4 separate regions of the Homo sapiens genome follow, and regions 1, 2 and 4 are each linked to region 3. The links are contacts of gene promoters, found by promoter capture Hi-C in blood cells and fetal thymus (Javierre and others, 2016). All regions are on one chromosome and are shown on one strand. Each heading gives the region's core, a stretch centred on a gene start or on the middle of the fragment in contact. The rest is flanking DNA. Distances are from core to core; before and after follow the strand shown. Region 1 overlaps MTA3 (metastasis associated 1 family member 3). Region 2 has its middle 6.3 kb from the start of TRI-TAT2-1. Region 3 holds the start of KCNG3 (potassium voltage-gated channel modifier subfamily G member 3). Region 4 has its middle 57 kb from the start of PKDCC.

Region 1 (2,700 bases), core at 44-2,543, 260 kb before region 3:
ACCAGACAGGTCCACAGTGTGGCAGGTCCCCCAGTGGCCTTGGCCCCAGGCTCTGGTGACGCGTCCTCCCCTGGTGCCCAGCCAGTCTCAGGATGGGGGCGGCTTGCTGTTGTTGTTCCCCACCTCTGGGTTGCCCCTCACTCCCCTGTTTTGCCTCTCAGCTTTTCTTGTTTTGTGTTAAACAAATCTCTGGATGAAAACCCCCACTTGAAATCCATTTTCCTGGGTGGGCCCTGAGAGATGGAAACTGGGCTGTGCACAAGGGGAATTGTGAAGGGCAGGCTGAAACCTTCCGGCGACACCCTCCAGTCGGCCCTCCTCTCTTGCGCACCTTTAAGAAGTGAAGGGTGGGCAGGCGATGACTGAGCCAGAGGGGGAGATAGCCTGCAGAGCCTGTGTCCTCACCCCAGGGGCATGTCTGCTGGGGGCTGCGCAGACAGTCTCTGCACGTCCACCCATGTGCTCACTGAACCACAGTGACATGCCACTGACACACAGCAGGGACACCATGGCCCCAGAAAGGGAGCGGGTGGCTGGGAAACCCTCTCAGCACCAAATGCTTCCAACGGCAAAGGCACAGACTAGAGGCGCCTCGGCACCCTTCCTCCATTGCCTGGGGGATTCTGTCAGAACGAGGGGGCAGTTTCCAGAGACAAAGGGAGAGCGTGAAGTCTCAGTCAACATCACCCTCCTAGGATGACTGGACTACAGAACCACGAGCTTTACTTACAAGAGGAAGGAAAAGCCTGCTTGGCACACGTGGCTCGAACAAGCTGCGCTTTTCCCAAAGCCAAATGTCAACTGGGTAGATAGGAGGGGCCTCCCTTCTCCTGCTTCAGACCTGGCCTGACTCCTGTCTCCAAATCTCTTGGGCCTGGGTGAGAGGGCCTCTCCCAAAAGGCAGAGAAAATGAAGCTGGCAGCTGAGTCACGGGCAGCTAATTGTTTCCAGAATCTGCAGTCACCACTTAGTAGGGGTTCAGAGAGAAAGTGAAAGGGTGAGGGAATCATTTCCCCTTCTGGGTCCAAGTACGACAATAAATCCAGAGCAGGGTACAGACAGACAGCTTTCCTGTGTCTTTTTCTTTAGGGAAGAAACATCCACGTGATGCGGCACCTCCTCCCAGGTCTTTGCTGAAGGGACCCCTCAGTGGGAACCCTGAGGAGAACCCCTGCCTGCCACCTCCACCCCTCTCACCAAATGCTTCTGACACAGGCCCCACCCTCAGCGCCCCAAGCCAAGACCCAGCACAGCTCCAAGAGTGGGTGGTGGTGGAGACATCCCATGCTCGCCCTTGCAGAAGCCTAAGATGAGAACCAACTCCTCCTCAGAAAAGAAGCTGAGATGTCTGCAAAACCGCCCTCCACCTCACACAGCACGCTCTCTCTGCCAAGCGGAGCTCAGCCTCCGAGGACACAGACATCTACAGCATCATTATCCTTACCAAGTTACCTCGTGCTTCCCAGGGTGTCAATTCAATTGTAGCCACTCTGTCTTGCAACAGCTTGGCTATTTGGGCCTCTCGTATCTGCCATCCAGCTGCCTCCTAGTAACCCCAGAGATGGCTGGGAGATCAGACTCCAGTTGTCTTTCTTGGGACTGTGACCCTGTGCCTGCAAACAGAGGGCAGGGGAGTTGCCAGCCTCACATCTGCTCAGGGAGCTCATCGGGCGCTGAGCTATTCCTATCCTTGCAGCTGCCAGCACAAGTAGCACAGCTACTCAGCACAGCTGAGTGGCCAACTGTGATGCCACCAAGGGCTCGTGCCGAGGGCAGGTGGGAAACACGAAGAGCCCAAGCCAAAGGAGCAGGCAGGTCCCCCGGGGCCTAGGTCACATGTGCTCACAAGATGTTGGGCTGGAGGGGTGGGGGTCATGGGGTTGGCCACACAGACTCATACCCACAAACACAGTTCTCTCACTCCACACCTCTAGGCCAAACAGAGTCTGTCTGCTTAAAATGAAACTAGGTCATTTGTGACCTGCTGTAGGACCCACCTGGCAGCAGTTCTTCATCAGCTGGTTTGGCTGCAAGGGAACAGGGCAGTAAGCAAACGGCTTGTCACAGTGATACACACGCTTGGCACTTTTAACAACTGCTCTTGCTGGAGCTGTCTGTGACCAAGCAGAGCCGGGCAGAACACCAGTTTCTCTCCAACCACAAAACACAGATGATGAGTTTACAGGCTTATCTTTTGTCAGAACCTCGGTAATTCTGTTCCTTGGAGGAGTAGGAGGGAGGGTCACATATAGGAATGCAGAGGGTAAACAGCAAATTCCCCCATTTCAAAAAAACAAGGATGAAGCCTATCGAGAAAAAGCTGAGTGACGGTAACAGCAAGGACAGGGAAATACCTTGAACCTCATAAACACTGGCGCATTTCTTAAGAAAAATCCATTCAGAAAGATGCCATGGCCCTCCTGTACATATTTAGTAACTATACAGCATAAGACCGAGCTGAGCGGACACATGCAGGGTGGCAGCGGCTCTGAGCTTGCAGCAGCCCCACTGCCAAGTGGCCGCTGTTGCTGGGTGGGGCGCAGGGCGCTGCAGAAGGGAGGAGGTGGAGGGGTTCCCTCAGCCCCTCAATTCTCAGCAGGTCTCGCTCCGTAACAGCGAGGTCTCTGACAAGAAAGCGAGGTGCTGCTGATCCACACGTGGAGACACAGGATTTGGAACGTGCACTCCCACAGTTCCTTC
Region 2 (2,700 bases), core at 173-2,672, 320 kb before region 3:
GCACTACAGCCTGGACAACAGAGTGAGACCCTGTCTCAAAAAAAAAAAAAAAACTACAAAACATTGCTTAAAGAAATTGAAGGCCTAAATAAATTGAGAGGTATGCTGTGTTTATGGAATCAGAAGACACACTTTTAAGAAGGTAATTCTCAAATTGTTGAATGTATTGACCAATACATTGAACACATACATTTACATTTTTTGAGACCCTGTCTCAAAAAAAAAAAAAAACTATGAAACATTGCTTAAAGAAATGGAAGGCCTAAATAAATGGAGAGATATACTATGTTTATGGAATCAGAAGACTTTTTTTTTTTTTTTTTTTGGAGACACAGTCTCACTCTATCTCCCAGGCTGGAGTGCAGTGGTGTGATTTCAGCTCACTGCAACCTCTGCTGCCTCCCTGGTTCAAGCGATTCTCATGCTTCAGCCTTCCAAGTAGCTGGGATTATAAGCATCCACCACCACACTCAGCTAATGTTTGTATTTTTAGTAGAGATGGGGTTTCACCATGTTGCCAGGCTGGTCTCGAACTCCTGACCTCAGGTGATCTGCAGAAGACATATTTTGAAGAAGATAATTCTCCTCAAATTGTTGAACGTCTTGATCAATACATTTAACAGAATTTCTATCAAAATCCAAGCAGAACTTTTCATAGAAATTGGTAAACTGAACCTAAAATTTATATGAAAATGTAAAGGACCTGCAATGGCCAAAAGCATTTTGAAAGAGAAGAACAAAATTGGAGAACTTATAATACCTGGTTTCCAAACTTACTCTAAATCTACAGTAATCACCACAGTGTAGTGTTGGCATAACACCATACTGACAGGTCAATAGAATAGAACGATAGTACAGCAATAGAGCAACACATTTATGGACAGCTTGTTTTTGATAAGATGCCAAGGCAATTTGATCAGGAAAGAATAAGCTTTTCAACAAATGGTGCCATAATTTAGATACTCACATACCCCAACCCCCCTCAAAATGAGACCTTTACCTCACACCATACACAAAAATTAAGTCAACTCAAAATGGAGCATAAACCTAAATATAAGAACTAAATCATGGACTAAAATCTTGGTGACCTTGAGTTAAACAAAGGTTATTTAGATATAGCACCAAAAGTACAATCAATAATGGGTAAAGAAATCAATGAATTGAACTTCATCAAAATGTTAAGATTTTGCTCGTTAACAGATATTAGAAAATGAAAACCCAAGCCACAAACTGGAAGTAATTACAAATTATATATCCACAGGCCAAACACAGTGGTGCATGCCTGAAATCCCAGCACTTTGGGTGGCCGAGGTGGATGGATCACCTGAGGTCAGGAGTTCAAGACCAGTCTGGCCAACATGGTGAACCTTGTCTCTACTAAAAATACAAAAATTAGCTGGCCATGATGGTGTGCACCTGTAGTCCCAGCTACTTGGGGGGCTGAGGCAGGAGAATCGGTTTAACCTGGGAGGCGGAGATTGCAGTGAGCTGAGATTGCACCACTGCACTCCAGCCTGGGTGACAGAGCAAGACTCTGTCTCAAAAAATATACGTATTATATATCCAACAAGGGAACTACATCTAGATTATACAGAAAATCTCTACAACCCAATAATGAAAAGAGAAACAACTCAATAAAAAGCAGACAGAAGACCGGAGTGGTGGCTTGCACCTGTGGTCCCAGCTACTGGGGAGGCTGAGGCAGGAGGATTGCTTGAATCCAGGAGTTTGAGGCTGTGATATCATGCCACTGCACTCTAGGCTGGGGGGCAAAACAAGACCCCATCTCAAAAACAAAAAACAAAAAAATACTTCACCAAAGAGGATATATTAATGTCTAATAAGCATATGAAAAGCTACTCAACATTATTAATGCAATTCATTGTACATAAACTATAACTCAGAAAAGCTTTAAAATTTAAAACTTATTGGTTATCTTTAGAAATTATTAGGGAATCAAAGATTGGTGGAAAAAGAGAAAGAATCAAGAAATTATCCAGTCTTTCTTATGTGAATTGTGCTTCCATAGTCATAAATACAGAAGGAATAATAGAATTAGAAAAGCACCATTGGGGAATCCTCAATAAAAATAATAGATTTAGACCAAGATAATCAACGGCTGCTAAAACATTAGGTTAGAGGCTGGTGAAGGACTTTATAATGGATGGATTCAGCCAACCACGCTGATGAAGGATTAGAGGCTGATGAAGGATTTTATAATGGATGGATTCTGCTGACCATGCTGAAATCATCAATCAAAAGCCATATTTCTAAATGTGGGACAGCCAGACATTATGTACTTTCTTTTGTGGTGCAATAGCACACAGTACCATCTAGAATATATTTTGGGGGAAAAATAATCTGAATATTATAAAGCTTCTAGATATAATTGCCATGAGGGATTGAAGAACATGGGGCTGAAGAAAACCTTGAGCATGCAATTAGCCAAAATCTGTGGGAAATTCTAAAGGTCAACAAAGAAATGTCATAAAAGGGGGTGAAAAGAGAGGAAATTCGAATAGATTAAAAGAGATTTATCCTTTAAATATCTTAAAGGATACACCAATCAAATGCCAAGGACAGCCCATATTTGGATCTTGATTCAAACAAACCAATCTTCTGTAAAAATATTTTTCAGAGATATGGGTAGCAATTTGAAAGCAGATGAGGTATGAGATGAAGCTAAGTAATTATTATTAC
Region 3 (2,700 bases), core at 25-2,524:
CATTTTCAGTTGTCTGCCTTTTCACTAGGAATCCACTTAAGAACCAGCGCAAAAGGACTCCGTTTGGCGACCTCTAGCGGGCACCGGACAATCCTACAAAATTACGAAAAGTAGAGGGCAATGAAAAACTCTTCCCTTTAACCAGCCAGGTTACCCTGTGGTCAGATGACCGCATCTCACCCTACCCCACCCTTATTTTTTTCTTCTAGTATTTGTTTTGCATCTAACACGGTTCGCCTTACAACTCACCTGTCTCGCCTCCGGCGGGCTGGGCTGCCGGTGTCGGGTGTCAGGTGAATGAATTGCTGGTAGCAGTTTAAAATAATCCCTGCCAAGTGGAACCCGCTTTCTGGGCACGGACAAGAGCGCGGGGTAGATCGCTCTGCGGAGCCTTCACGGGGCTCTTCCCGCTCGGAGGGCCGGTGCTGCAGCCGGGTCAGGGGTGCGCGGGGGAAATCAAGATATTTTGAAAAGGAGGATGCAGACGAAGACCAAGAGAAAGGCTGTTTTTGCCGGTGACAAGGCGTTCCTCCCCAGACTTTCATCCCACTCTAAGGGCAGCATCTCGAGAGGGTCCAGGCGCGCTACACGTTAGGCGCCTTCTCAGGACTCGCGCCCCAGAACGTGGGGGCCGGGGCCGGGTCGGGGACCGCTTCCCTCCGCGGGCTGGCAGGCGGCACCGAGGCTGGGGGATGGGGCGTGTAGCCGCCCTCTGAGCACGCGGTACGTGGGTCGCCCCGCGCGGCGGTAGGAAGAGCAAAGTCGGCAGGAAAAGCCGTGGCTGGGATGCCTTCCCTGAGAAATCCTTAGGGGCGATGTCAGAACCCGAGCTGGGCTCCGGACAGTTTCTGGAAAAAGCTCTCCAAACGCCGTCTGTCCCCGCACCCGAGTCCACACTGGGCTTTGAACCAGGGCTGTTAAAAGGGGCCCTGGGGACTGCCCAATTCATCCCGATGGCCCAGGGCAGGACGCGGGAGCAGGCATCCCGGCGCTGGGCTCCCCGCTCCCCCGCCCTGCGGACCCCTCCCCGCCACTACGGGCCGGAGCGGAGGGGGAGGACGGCGTCACGAGGCGGGGAGCCCGAGGTCCAGGGCGGGGCGCCCGGGAATCCCAGCCCGAGCAAGCCGGGGAGGTGCGGGCGCGGGCGGGAAGCGGAGGGCGGCGCGGAGGGAGGTGAGCGGCGCGCGCGGAGCCGGCGGGCGAGGAGGAGGACTGCACAGAGGCCCCGCCCCCGCCGCCGCGAGCCGGCTCTTCGCCGCCTCCGAACCCGCTCACTTTGCCTCTCGCCTCTGGACGGCGGCGGGGCGGCCGCCGGATTCGCGGCCGCAGGGAGCGCCGGAGACGGGGAGCTATTCCGCCCCGGCGGCTCCATTCGGCGCCCGCAGCCCTCAGGGGGTCGGCCCCGCGGCTTGGGAGAGGGCACCGCGGCCTCGGTGTGCGCAGCCCTCGGGCGCGAGGGTCGGCGGCGCGGACACAGCCGCGTTCCCAGCCGGTGGGGCTCAGCGCTGGCGCCGGCGAGGACTCCCCGGCCACCCGCAGGTACCGCCGGGCGGAGGGCGCGCTACTAGCAGCGCCGGAGATACTCGAGCCCAGGGACCCCCGGGCCAGCGGAGGGCAGGAGCGGAGCCCCGAGGGAGCGCGGGCCCCGACGGCGCGCTCCCCCGTCAGCCACGGGCAGGCAGGCCCCGCGTGGCGGCTTGGGGTGGGGGGCTGCAGCGGGGCCCTCGGGCCGAAAGTCCCCCGGGCGGCCAGCCATGACCTTCGGGCGCAGCGGGGCGGCCTCGGTGGTGCTGAACGTGGGCGGCGCCCGGTATTCGCTGTCCCGGGAGCTGCTGAAGGACTTCCCGCTGCGCCGCGTGAGCCGGCTGCACGGCTGCCGCTCCGAGCGCGACGTGCTCGAGGTGTGCGACGACTACGACCGCGAGCGCAACGAGTACTTCTTCGACCGGCACTCGGAGGCCTTCGGCTTCATCCTGCTCTACGTGCGCGGCCACGGCAAGCTGCGCTTCGCGCCGCGGATGTGCGAGCTCTCCTTCTACAACGAGATGATCTACTGGGGCCTGGAGGGCGCGCACCTCGAGTACTGCTGCCAGCGCCGCCTCGACGACCGCATGTCCGACACCTACACCTTCTACTCGGCCGACGAGCCGGGCGTGCTGGGCCGCGACGAGGCGCGCCCCGGCGGGGCCGAGGCGGCTCCCTCCAGGCGCTGGCTGGAGCGCATGCGGCGGACCTTCGAGGAGCCCACGTCGTCGCTGGCCGCGCAGATCCTGGCTAGCGTGTCGGTGGTGTTCGTGATCGTGTCCATGGTGGTGCTGTGCGCCAGCACGTTGCCCGACTGGCGCAACGCAGCCGCCGACAACCGCAGCCTGGATGACCGGAGCAGGTACTCCGCCGGCCCTGGGAGGGAGCCCTCCGGGTAGGACGCACTGCTTCTCTACCCGTCCCGTCCGTCCTGTCGCGTCTGTCCGTCCCGTCCATACGTCCCGTCTCCGTCCTGTCCGCCTCCGGGCGACCGAGCCAGCGGGGTGCGCGCCCAGCGAGGCCCAGGCGCGGCCAACTACGGGACCGGTCGGTCCCCACTCCTACCCCGTTGTCCGGGGCACCAGCGGGGTCTGGCCCTTACACTAGACGCACCTCTTGAGGGCGAAATCCTCAGGCATGGGGAGGGGCGTGTAGAGATAGACAAATGTCCCCTCT
Region 4 (2,700 bases), core at 1-2,500, 390 kb after region 3:
TTGAATAGATTTTTTGCTCTCTGATTACTGAATTTCCTGTTTCTCTGAAAGCCTGAAATGTACTTGATCACATCCACCCTCCTCCCCACCCCAGAGGGCACATCCGGGGCTCTGTTGACACATTTGTCACATGGGCGACTTTCAAAAACAGTCGGAGTTCAAATATCCACAGAGCTGAATGCCTCCCCACCCCCCAGAGAGGCATTTGGGGATGGTTGAGGCTGTCCCAAGGGCTATCAGATAGATCCTTTTAAGTAAGGCCTTTTCATTCATTCCCACATTTCCATATAAAACCTTCCCTCACTCTGCCTCCTCTCTGCCTGCCCATTAAACTGCTTTGGCGGGAGGAGCCTCCAAATTGGGGGAAGACAATTTTTGCTCACGTGGTCTGTGTTTCAGAGAACACAGCTGCTCACCATCTTGGTGAATGAGATCGTGCTTCCATCCTGGCTGCTCAAACCCAAGTTTATCACTGGTGCCTCCTCTTCACTCAGCTTCTCCTCTGGACGTAGCTTTGTCCTGATCAAAAGCCAGATCCATTCCTTTGGACTCGCTTATAGCCTAAGTCGGCAGCCATCTAATCACCTCCAGACTTTGCCTCTGACTATCACCCAAGGCACTGCCAAAGAAGAGTTGCAGGGAAGGGGGCCCAGGATGCTAAGAAAAGCTTGGTGTTTGCTGAATTAAGTGAGAGGATGAGCTCTTGGGAAACAGGTGATGTTTCTGTCACACACCCTAGTTTCATAACAGCTGTTTAAACACCAACTTCTCGTCTTGTGGTTTTATAGAACTGTAGAAATCTTTTCTGCTGTGCTCTGGCCATGGCCTGACGCTGTCTGGCGGAGCAATGCTTTCTCTCCGTAATTTACCTCAATTAATTTCCCTTAACCAGCTCTCAGAATAAGATCTCCATGCTGCGATGTGACTAGTTAGATTCAATAGTTACCTGTTTAGGGAATATTTGCATTTTGGTGTGAGAGGAGGGGTGGGCCAAGCAGTTGGTGAGAGAAAGAGACAGGATGGGATGGTGGAGCCTGTGGTAGACTGCAGAATACAGGTCAGTGTGGCCAGATTTTTAGTTTTGGGGAAACTGTTTACAAATCCAGATATTTCGGTATAATCTTCCAATTTAAAATTTTTGGTAATTAATTCGTTTTTAAAAAAACGCTAGGTGTACCAGATAAAATACATATTTGAGTCACCTTGGACCATGGACCAAGGTGAGGTAGCAGTGACATGCATAAATGGAAGCACACTTTTGGATTAAATGTGTTTGGTGTTAAGCACAATGGTTCTTTTATGGTTGATTTTTGGCAAAAATGCCAGTGGCGCTGCCCTGTGGTCCTGAAATCATACTGGAAAGGCTGGCCCAGGACTGACTCTGGCCTTGGTGACTTGCATCTAGTTCATTTGGAATCCGGTTCCTATGGATAGTTTCTTCCTCAGTATAGGTTGCCTGGGTCCCTCAGGAAAGCCATCGAATTCAATGTGAATGCAATCACTCAGGTCGACTAAAGGCAGGTGAGTGTAACAGGAAGGTCTTCCTCACTGTGAAGGATGGCTGAAGACTGCAATAGAGTCCTTTCCATCTCTGATCAGAGAGACTGGCAGAGTTTATTGTACAGCACAGGTTTAACACATGACCTCTGGAATCAGATCCGTGGGTTCAAACTTCTCCCCTATTAGCTGGGTGTCCTCGGGCAAGTTAATTAGTCTCTCTAAACTCAGATTTTTAATCTGTAAAACGGGGAGTTAATAGTTCCTTCTAAGTAGTATTCAGTGAGATGGCGCTTGCAAAGTGCTTCCGTAGCAGTTCCTAAAGTGTAAGCTTCTACATCAGAAATGGGGTGTGACTTCATGTTTAGAAGACTCACTCACTATGTTTTAAATTTTGCTGGGGCTCAGAAAATGATAAGTCAAAGTATAATGCCTTGGCGTGCTGAGTACTTTGAACTAAAGGAGATTGGAAGGCCTTAGAAGCAGTCTCAGAAGTAAAATCTCTCTCTGAACTTCTCTTGCCCTATTTCCCACCCCTTCTTCTCCCTGAATTCATAGAAACTAGAATTCCTCTTCCCTATGGCAGGTCATAATAACTAGAATCCCTTTCCCCCAAAGCAAGCCATAAAATCTAGAACTGTTACTCTAAGTTCCCCCTGCCTTTCTGTGTAGGCACTGGCCATGAAGAGATTCTCTGATCTACCTCTGACTGTGAGTTATAAGACCCGTGCTCCAGAAAGCCCCTGCCCCACACCCAGGAGGAAGGAATGCTGCTCAGAGAGGCCAAGAAGAATCTGAACAGACAGGCCTTGCTGGGTTTCTCCCCTCAGTCTGTTACCATTAGATCGCATCCTTTTGTCTATTTTTATGCTTAGGTTCAACGAAGAATGGACAGTGTGTATTTCTACCTAGGCATAAAAATAGACAGTTTTCCCTGGGTCACTGGGTTTTCATTTCTGAAGGCTCCTGTGTCCCATAAAACTTTGATTCGGTAAATTTGCTATGCTTTTCTCTTGTTAATCAGTCTTTTGCTATAGCAATGACCCTTATGAAGGGTGAGGAAAGGTATCTCACATCTTTTCTACCCCGCCCCCCCCCCACAATAGGGATTTATTGAACTGCACCACACCAAGTCCCAGACCCAGGAGACTGGGCTCAGAAAGTCCCACTGAGTTCCTAGGTACCAGCCTTCTGGTAGAGCAG

What was found. The method cuts DNA at HindIII sites, captures the fragments that hold promoters and counts their contacts. A CHiCAGO score of 5 or more calls a contact.
Region 1: a fragment that was not itself captured here is called in contact with the fragment with the promoter of KCNG3 in region 3 in 6 of 17 cell types (megakaryocytes, M0 macrophages, M1 macrophages and 3 more); the score reaches 7.2 in megakaryocytes.
Region 2: a fragment that was not itself captured here is called in contact with the fragment with the promoter of KCNG3 in region 3 in 1 of 17 cell types (M0 macrophages); the score reaches 5.3 in M0 macrophages.
Region 4: a fragment that was not itself captured here is called in contact with the fragment with the promoter of KCNG3 in region 3 in 1 of 17 cell types (fetal thymus); the score reaches 5.6 in fetal thymus.

Annotation. Positions count from the first base shown.
Region 1 is chr2:42,753,546-42,756,245 of GRCh38, reverse strand. It overlaps MTA3 (metastasis associated 1 family member 3), which reads right to left. Exons shown (of 17, transcript NM_001330442.2): 17 at 1-2,700. Among named protein-coding and RNA genes, the nearest start is that of OXER1, 9.2 kb to the left of the region's middle. RefSeq lists an enhancer at 1-202. The HindIII fragment of the contact is 5,030 bases long and covers 1-2,700 here.
Region 2 is chr2:42,815,458-42,818,157 of GRCh38, reverse strand. No RefSeq gene overlaps it. Among named protein-coding and RNA genes, the nearest start is that of TRI-TAT2-1, 6.3 kb to the right of the region's middle. The HindIII fragment of the contact is 978 bases long and covers 934-1,911 here.
Region 3 is chr2:42,492,556-42,495,255 of GRCh38, reverse strand. KCNG3 (potassium voltage-gated channel modifier subfamily G member 3) reads left to right here and starts at 1,274. Exons shown (of 2, transcript NM_133329.6): 1 at 1,274-2,419. The coding sequence starts at 1,755. It also overlaps a transcript of MTA3 not described here. RefSeq lists enhancers at 1-247, 1,572-2,329, 2,330-2,700 and silencers at 1,002-1,081, 1,172-1,221, 1,402-1,491. The HindIII fragment of the contact is 17,203 bases long and covers 1-2,700 here.
Region 4 is chr2:42,103,592-42,106,291 of GRCh38, reverse strand. No RefSeq gene overlaps it. Among named protein-coding and RNA genes, the nearest start is that of PKDCC, 57 kb to the right of the region's middle. The HindIII fragment of the contact is 1,161 bases long and covers 670-1,830 here.